2 separate regions of the Homo sapiens genome follow, and region 1 is linked to region 2. Evidence: promoter capture Hi-C in 16 types of primary human blood cells and fetal thymus (Javierre and others, 2016). All regions are on one chromosome and are shown on one strand. The core of a region is centred on a gene start or on the middle of the fragment in contact, and the rest is flanking DNA. Distances in the headings are between cores, read along the strand shown. Region 1 overlaps SACS (sacsin molecular chaperone). Region 2 holds the start of PARP4 (poly(ADP-ribose) polymerase family member 4).

The links. The method cuts DNA at HindIII sites, captures the fragments that hold promoters and counts their contacts. A CHiCAGO score of 5 or more calls a contact.
Region 1: a fragment that was not itself captured here is called in contact with the fragment with the promoter of PARP4 in region 2 in 1 of 17 cell types (non-activated CD4 T cells); the score reaches 6.0 in non-activated CD4 T cells.

Annotation. Positions count from the first base shown.
Region 1 is chr13:23,364,320-23,367,615 of GRCh38, reverse strand. SACS (sacsin molecular chaperone) reads left to right here. Exons shown (of 10, transcript NM_014363.6): 6 at 2,339-2,450. Among named protein-coding and RNA genes, the nearest start is that of SACS-AS1, 53 kb to the left of the region's middle. The HindIII fragment of the contact is 922 bases long and covers 875-1,796 here.
Region 2 is chr13:24,510,731-24,514,087 of GRCh38, reverse strand. PARP4 (poly(ADP-ribose) polymerase family member 4) reads left to right here and starts at 1,310. Exons shown (of 34, transcript NM_006437.4): 1 at 1,310-1,382. The region is part of intron 1 of LOC105370117 (a long non-coding RNA gene); the gene reads right to left. RefSeq lists a silencer at 1,153-1,312. The HindIII fragment of the contact is 3,630 bases long and covers 1-2,332 here.

The sequences.
Region 1 (3,296 bases), core at 86-2,585, 1.1 Mb after region 2:
TCTCAAAAAACAAACAAACAATAAAACAACAAAAAAAGAAAAACCAATAATCATCAAAGAAAGCAATAATGGGAGATACTGCAAAAATTAGATTTTGTGTTTAATAAGAAACTTCCTTAATTGTCAAAGTAGACCAGTTGTTATGCATTTTCCTTCCCATTAGCTTGTTTAGTGTTTATTACCTTCAGTATCTTGGCCCTGGTTATATTTTCTAGTTTAGATTGTAAACTGTGAGGGAATCAGGACTAGGTCTCTTTAATTTAAGAGAGTCATGCTCAGGTAGGCACTCACTGAGGACTGTTGTGTCTTTAGTGATCATGGTGAGACTGGGCTGTTGGAGCAGTCCATCTTTCAGCATAGGCACCAGTGGTTCACAGAAAGCGAATTCAAAAACAGTTTTTGTATTGACTTATTAGGAAAGTGAGGATGGAAAGAGTATTGCTACGAGGTGGTTTTGGGGTAGAAAGAAGTGAATAGAATACATTTAAAATAAAGGTATAGTGGTAACAGGAGTAGGTTGTCATCTGTTTAGAAGTGAGCGAGTGGGATCCTTGCTGAGAAATGAGAAAGGTCTATGGCAAACAGCTGAGGGCTACGCGCCTTCTGCTTTGCTTATAGATATATTTGTATTGTAGCCAGTTCAATGTAATCTTTGTTCCTTGGATGTTGTGGTAGAATTAGACTGTTTTAGATTTAATAGGAGTCTTAGAAATCACCAAGACCTACACCACCACCTTCTATGGTATTTGTGTTTGCTGAAACAGGTCCAGAGATCTTAGTGGCTTGCCCAAGACCAAATACAAAATGTATTGTTGCTGTTTCCCAGAGTTAGTTTACAAACAATCTCTCAGGATTGCAATTTAGGGGAAAAGCTTCCTATCCTATTTTTTATTCAACTTGAGAATGAGTGGAACCTGGGACTTAGATTTTATCTTTAGTTTTCTGCCTCTCTGCTCCCTAAAGTACACATAAATAATAAATAGATACCTGAATGAAAACAAGGTCGAACATCTAAAGTGCTATCATTTTGTAAGTTAACATTGTTTTTCACTACCTATTTAATTCTTATTTCCATCCTTCATATTATTATAATATCCTAATGTAAATAAGATTGTTAATTTTTAGGGATTCTCTGGGATTGAATGAGGCCTAAAAAATTAAAATCCCATGAGAAATAGTTAGTTACGTAACAAGGAAGAATCACTAGCTGATAATGAGGCTGCAGGAGGCACGACTTAGCTGTTCATGTTTGGGGTGGAACAGCTGGTGGGTACCACACTCCAGCCCTTTGGGATGCACTGGGTGAACTGAGCACAATCTCAGAACTGACTTTTCACTTCTGCTCCCTCAGTCTCCTTGTAGTTATTTTGTTTCATGTAGTCATCGTACCACCTCTCTACTCTGATGTAGGCATCACTGTTGACATTGTTGTAGTATCAGTTAAAGTGCTCTTCAATTTTTGCCCATCTGTACCTCCAATTTAGTGATCCCAAGGCTCTGGGGAAGTAAAAAAGCTCTTTTGATGATCATGGGGTTGGATCTAGGAGCTGATTCTTGATTCAGATTCTGGAGCTCCCTTCAAACTGAACGGAGCCCAGCGTGATTTTAGTAGGTGTGCAGAAGTGATTGGGGTTGTTAGGATTGGAAATTTTGTTGAGGCAAATCTTGCAGTTTGCCCTTTCCTTTCTACATTACGGGGAGCTGGTCACCCTTCCACTCACCCACCATTCACCAAACAAATGGTAGTGCTTTCTTCTTGATGAAAGGAATGAGTCAGTCCTGACCATCTGGAAGCTTTCAGTTTAGTGCAGGACAAAGACATTTTTATATCTCAGGCTCTCAAGAAAGCAGCCAATTGAAGGGTATATATAGATTGCTACTATTTGGTTTTATTGTTTTTCTGTGGAAAGGTAAGTTTAGTAAGCAAAGGATAAAAAAGGTCTATTTTTGGCAATCACTCAAGCTTAAGTTACCTGCCACACAGGACGATATGTGCAGCTTTTGGAAATAGAATAATTTCCTTTGAACAAAAGCTTTGGGTAGATTGTAAATATGAGACAGTTATAAATAGGGCCCAGGATTAATTTGCTAAGTGATAGCAAATTAAAAGACAAAATTTAAGTGCAAATAATTGGAGAAGGACTTTTCAACCATACTGTCACATCTATGTAACAATTACTTTCAGTAGTAGCCTCACCAGATCTTAAAGGTAATGTTGCAAATAGTGGGTTTCCTTTATTTAAGTATATTAACTTCTTAAATATTATAGATAAATACAAAGATGAGCAGTAGATTACTGTGTTATTAATTACTATTTTTTGGTATATTTTTTGGTTAGGAATTAATTCAGAATGCAGAAGATGCTGGGGCGACAGAAGTTAAATTTTTATATGATGAAACTCAATACGGAACAGAGACTCTTTGGTCAAAAGATATGGCGCCATATCAGGGTAAGAATCAATAATTAGGAACAAATTTTATTGTATGCACTAACAGGCAGTTTTTAATGATTAATAATGCTTTGTTTAATGAACAGTCTATCATTTGTACTTTTTGGCATGTTTATGTCCACTTCTTCAGATGTTTTTCTCTGCTTTTGGTGGGAAGGTGTCTCCACCAGTTGGTATTTTTAGAGAACAAAGAATAAAATCTGAAAACTCAAAATGACAAGCAATGTAATGACCAAAGCCTCTTATTCTATTCAAACAACTTGTATTTTATATTATCAGTAGGATAAAGGGACACCATTTATGTATAGTAACACTTTCCTGCATTTGGAAAGATGTTGTGAAAGGCCATGCTTTTGTGTATTTTCCGCTTTAGGAGTACCCTCGACATTGTTTGGAAGTTGGGTGGGAAGAAAGATTGAAGGAGAGGAGAGAACAAGGAAAATGAAAGGAAACATGATAAGAAAGCCATAAACTAATAAATTATTAATCCAATAAGAACCCTAACCAATAGACTCCTAATATCTCACTTCTACTCCGGGGAGCTTTGGTGTCAAAAAGAATGTTCATAAATTGTAGTATACCTCTGGCTGGGTGCGGTGGCTCACGCCTGTAATCCTAGCACTTTGGGAGGCTGAGGTGGGCAGATCACCTGAGGTCAGGAGTTTGGGACCAGCCTGGCGAACGTGGCAAAACCCCGTCTCTACTAAAAATATAAAAATTAGCTGGGCGTGGTGGCAGACGCCTGTAATCCCAGCTACTCAGGAGGCTGAGGCCGGAGAATCGCTTGAACTCGGGAGGCGGAGGTTGTAGTGAGCCGAGATCACATCACTTCAATTTAGTATACCT
Region 2 (3,357 bases), core at 61-2,560:
TTTTGGTAGAATGAGTTCTCTTGTTTTGAATATGTACCCAGTAATGGGATAGCTGGGTTGAATAGCAGTTCTGTTTTCAGCACTTTGAGAAATCTTCAAACTGGTTTCCACAGTGGTTCAACTAATTTACATTCCCACTGACAGTGTATAAGCATTTCCTTTTCAATAAAGCCTTGCCAGCATCTGTTGTTCCTTGACTTTTTAATAATAACCATTCTGACTGGTGTAAGATGGTATCTCATTGCAGTTTTAATTTGCACTTTTCTGATAATTAGTTATGCTGGGCTTTTTTTCATGCTTGTTGACCATTTGCACATCTTCTATTGCATATTCTCTATTTATTGAGACTTTGTTCTCCTGGTTGTTTCTTTCAGTTATTTTTCTATGTTTCCTTTCACTTTTTGTCCATGTTTAAGACAGTTTATTTGAAGTATTTGTCTAATAATTCCTATGTCTGTGCTTCCTCAGCTCAGGGACAATTTCTGTTCATTTCTTTTTTCCTTTGAATTGGCCATTTTTTCGCCTTTTTTTTTGCATGCCTCATAATTTTTTGTTGAAGATTGGACATTTTGAGCATTACGATGTGGTAACTCTAGGAATCAGTCTCTCTCCTCCCCCAGAATCTCTTGTTGTTTCTTAGACAACCCTATAGAGTAGGTTGTAATGATGAAACTTGGTAAATTACCTTGTCCCCAGCCCCCTTGGTAATAAATTGTGGAGTCAGGATTCAACCCCATACCCTTTCCACTGTATTCTCTACTCTATCCTTTCTATTCTCATTTTATTCAGTATCCTAAAAATCTGAATCTTCCCCATTGCTTTATTCCCATTTCAGTGAATCTCAGATCTGTATCTCCAGCCCCCTGCCTCTCTTGAATGGCAGATAAATATATTTCCAACTAGTTACACTGTCACGAATTTCAAACGCAGGAAGGCTTAAAGTAAATTTATTATCTCACTCTCCTGTTTCCACGAACTTTCCCGAAATTTTCTTCTTTCCCGGCCTTGTGAATCCCTTCCATTTCTCAGTTAAAGGACAGCACCATCCACCCACCTCTCTCAAAGCCGAGCTTTGTATTAATCCTCATTGACAAAATCCCTCCTGAAATATGAAACTGAAAGCCCTGAACCCTCCGGCTGATCTTGGAAGAGAAACCCCGCCAGAGGCCGGGGACCCGCTCCCCACCTGGCGGACCCGATTCCGGGCGCGTTCCGGCTATCGTCCCTGCTTGGGACGCTGCGCCCGCCTGGTGCGGGGCGGGGTTCCGGCGCAGTGGCGCCCGCCCAGCCCCGGGGGCAGGGAGAGCCTAGATTACGGAAGTACCGCGAGCAAGGAGCGCGGAATCGGGGAGCGTCCGGAGCTAGCTGGATCCTCTAGGCAGGTGCGTGGGCGCTGCGGGGTGGGGGGCTGCAAAGGTCCCTGTAGTCCTAGCCAGGAAGTGGCCCGCGTACTACTTTCCCGCCAGTGGCTGCACCCTTGCCCTGCGCGGCGTTGGCGCTGTGGGCCTGACGGCGCTGCTAGGCTCGGGAGTGGACTAGCTAGTGCAGCCAGCGCCCTCGGGGAGGGATATTGCGGTCGTTCCGCTCTGCCCCGCGGCGCAGCCCTGGTGACGAGAAACCGGGTGCGGTGGGGGGCGCCCACCGGAGCCGACAGTCACACCAAGTCTCCGCACCCCGTGCGGTGCGGTTCGCAGTAGCACGCGTTGTTTCTTGTTTCCAGTATGCCAAACGGCCTTCTTTCCTAAAGTTAGGTTTCGAATTGTGCAAAAAGTAAGGTGGTTTGGTGAGTAATCAGGAAGTACTATCTGACCTCGTGAGTCATTGGGAACACCGTGATAGAAACAATGTGTTTGTTGAGGTCCAAAGTTGAAAACCTCTAACTCAGTTAAGTAATTCCTGCTAGGAGGGCCGAATGGTTCACCCAGGGATCGAGTTGGTAGATCACAGGTTCTAGAAAACTAAGGCGCTGCTAAATATTCAAGCCCAAGCACTTTCAATTCTGGACTGCTGGATGACAACAATTATATGACAATATCCAAGCATAGTGCTATGATAAAGGGGAAGTTCGCTCTGAGATGTGCGTGTTGCAGACTCATTACATCTGACTTTATCATTTATTAAGTAAACATTAGGTCTTGTTTGTGTGCGTAGAGCTACTGTATATCATGTAGGAGTGAAATAAAAGTAGTACCTTTGTTGTTTAAGGGTTTAATAAACCCATTAGGGAGGTGCATTACTGATGCCATTTGAGTCCAAAATGCAAATAGTGTCAGAAGGCTTTTCTGTAATCCTGGGCTTTAATGGATACGTGAGAGTTTTTAGTAAGCAAGCTTTTATTGAATGCCCACTGTATATCAAAAGTGATCTTAGCGTGTGCTGACTCACACACTTCGGAAGGCGGAGGCTGTAGAATCAAGACTGCCCAGAAAGGGACTCCTCAGGGTTTTCCGAGAGGAGGAAATGCCAGTGGTAAAGACGAAGACCTGTGAAGCAGGAAGCCACTTGATTCCACCTACACCAATGGTTTATGGAGCAGCCAAGAGTTTGTGAGGAGGCGCGCTGAGGGTTTCTTAGGAATCGGGGCTGTTCCCTGCTGTCTTTGGGTGGAAGACACTCTGTGAATGTTATTTGGGGAAGAAGCTGGGAAGGGGGACAGGCTGGAGTGACTGTGCAGATTTGCCTTAGAGAATAACCAGCCCCTAGCCCAGTGTCCGCCACATCTCATATGTACGTAATCAGCGCTGATGAAAACATGAACTAACTCTGTGTTTAGAGAACACTTTGAAACAAGGAAGAACTAGTGGCGCATGTCGGTTAGGCGCTGTTAACCCAGAAGAGGGCTGGCATTTTACAGAGACTAGAGATGAATCTGTGGAAAGAGAGAAGTCAAGACCTGACTTGAGATTTCACGAAACCCAAAGTGCGCCTTTCCATACCTCCCACGCAGCCGCAGGTGCTAAGAACAGACCGCAGATTTATGTTTAAAATGTTTTTACTCTGGGCCGGGCGTGGCAGCTCACACCTGTAACCCCAGCACTCTGGGAGGCTGAGGCAGGAGGATGGCTTGAGCCCAGGAGTTTGTGACCAGCCTTGGCAACATAGTAAGAACCCTGTCTCTACCAAAATTAGCTGGGCATGGTGGTGCAGGCCTGTGGTCCCAGCTACTAAGTAGGCCGGGTGAAAGGATTGCTGGGAGGGAGGTCGAGGTTGCAGTGAGCTGTGACAGTGACCACACCACTGCACTCCAGCTTGGGAGACAGAGCCAGACCCTGTCTCAAATAAAATAAAATGTTTATACTTTGATTTCACAACTATGTGTATGTACTTAATGCCACTGAACTGTACACACAGTTTTAA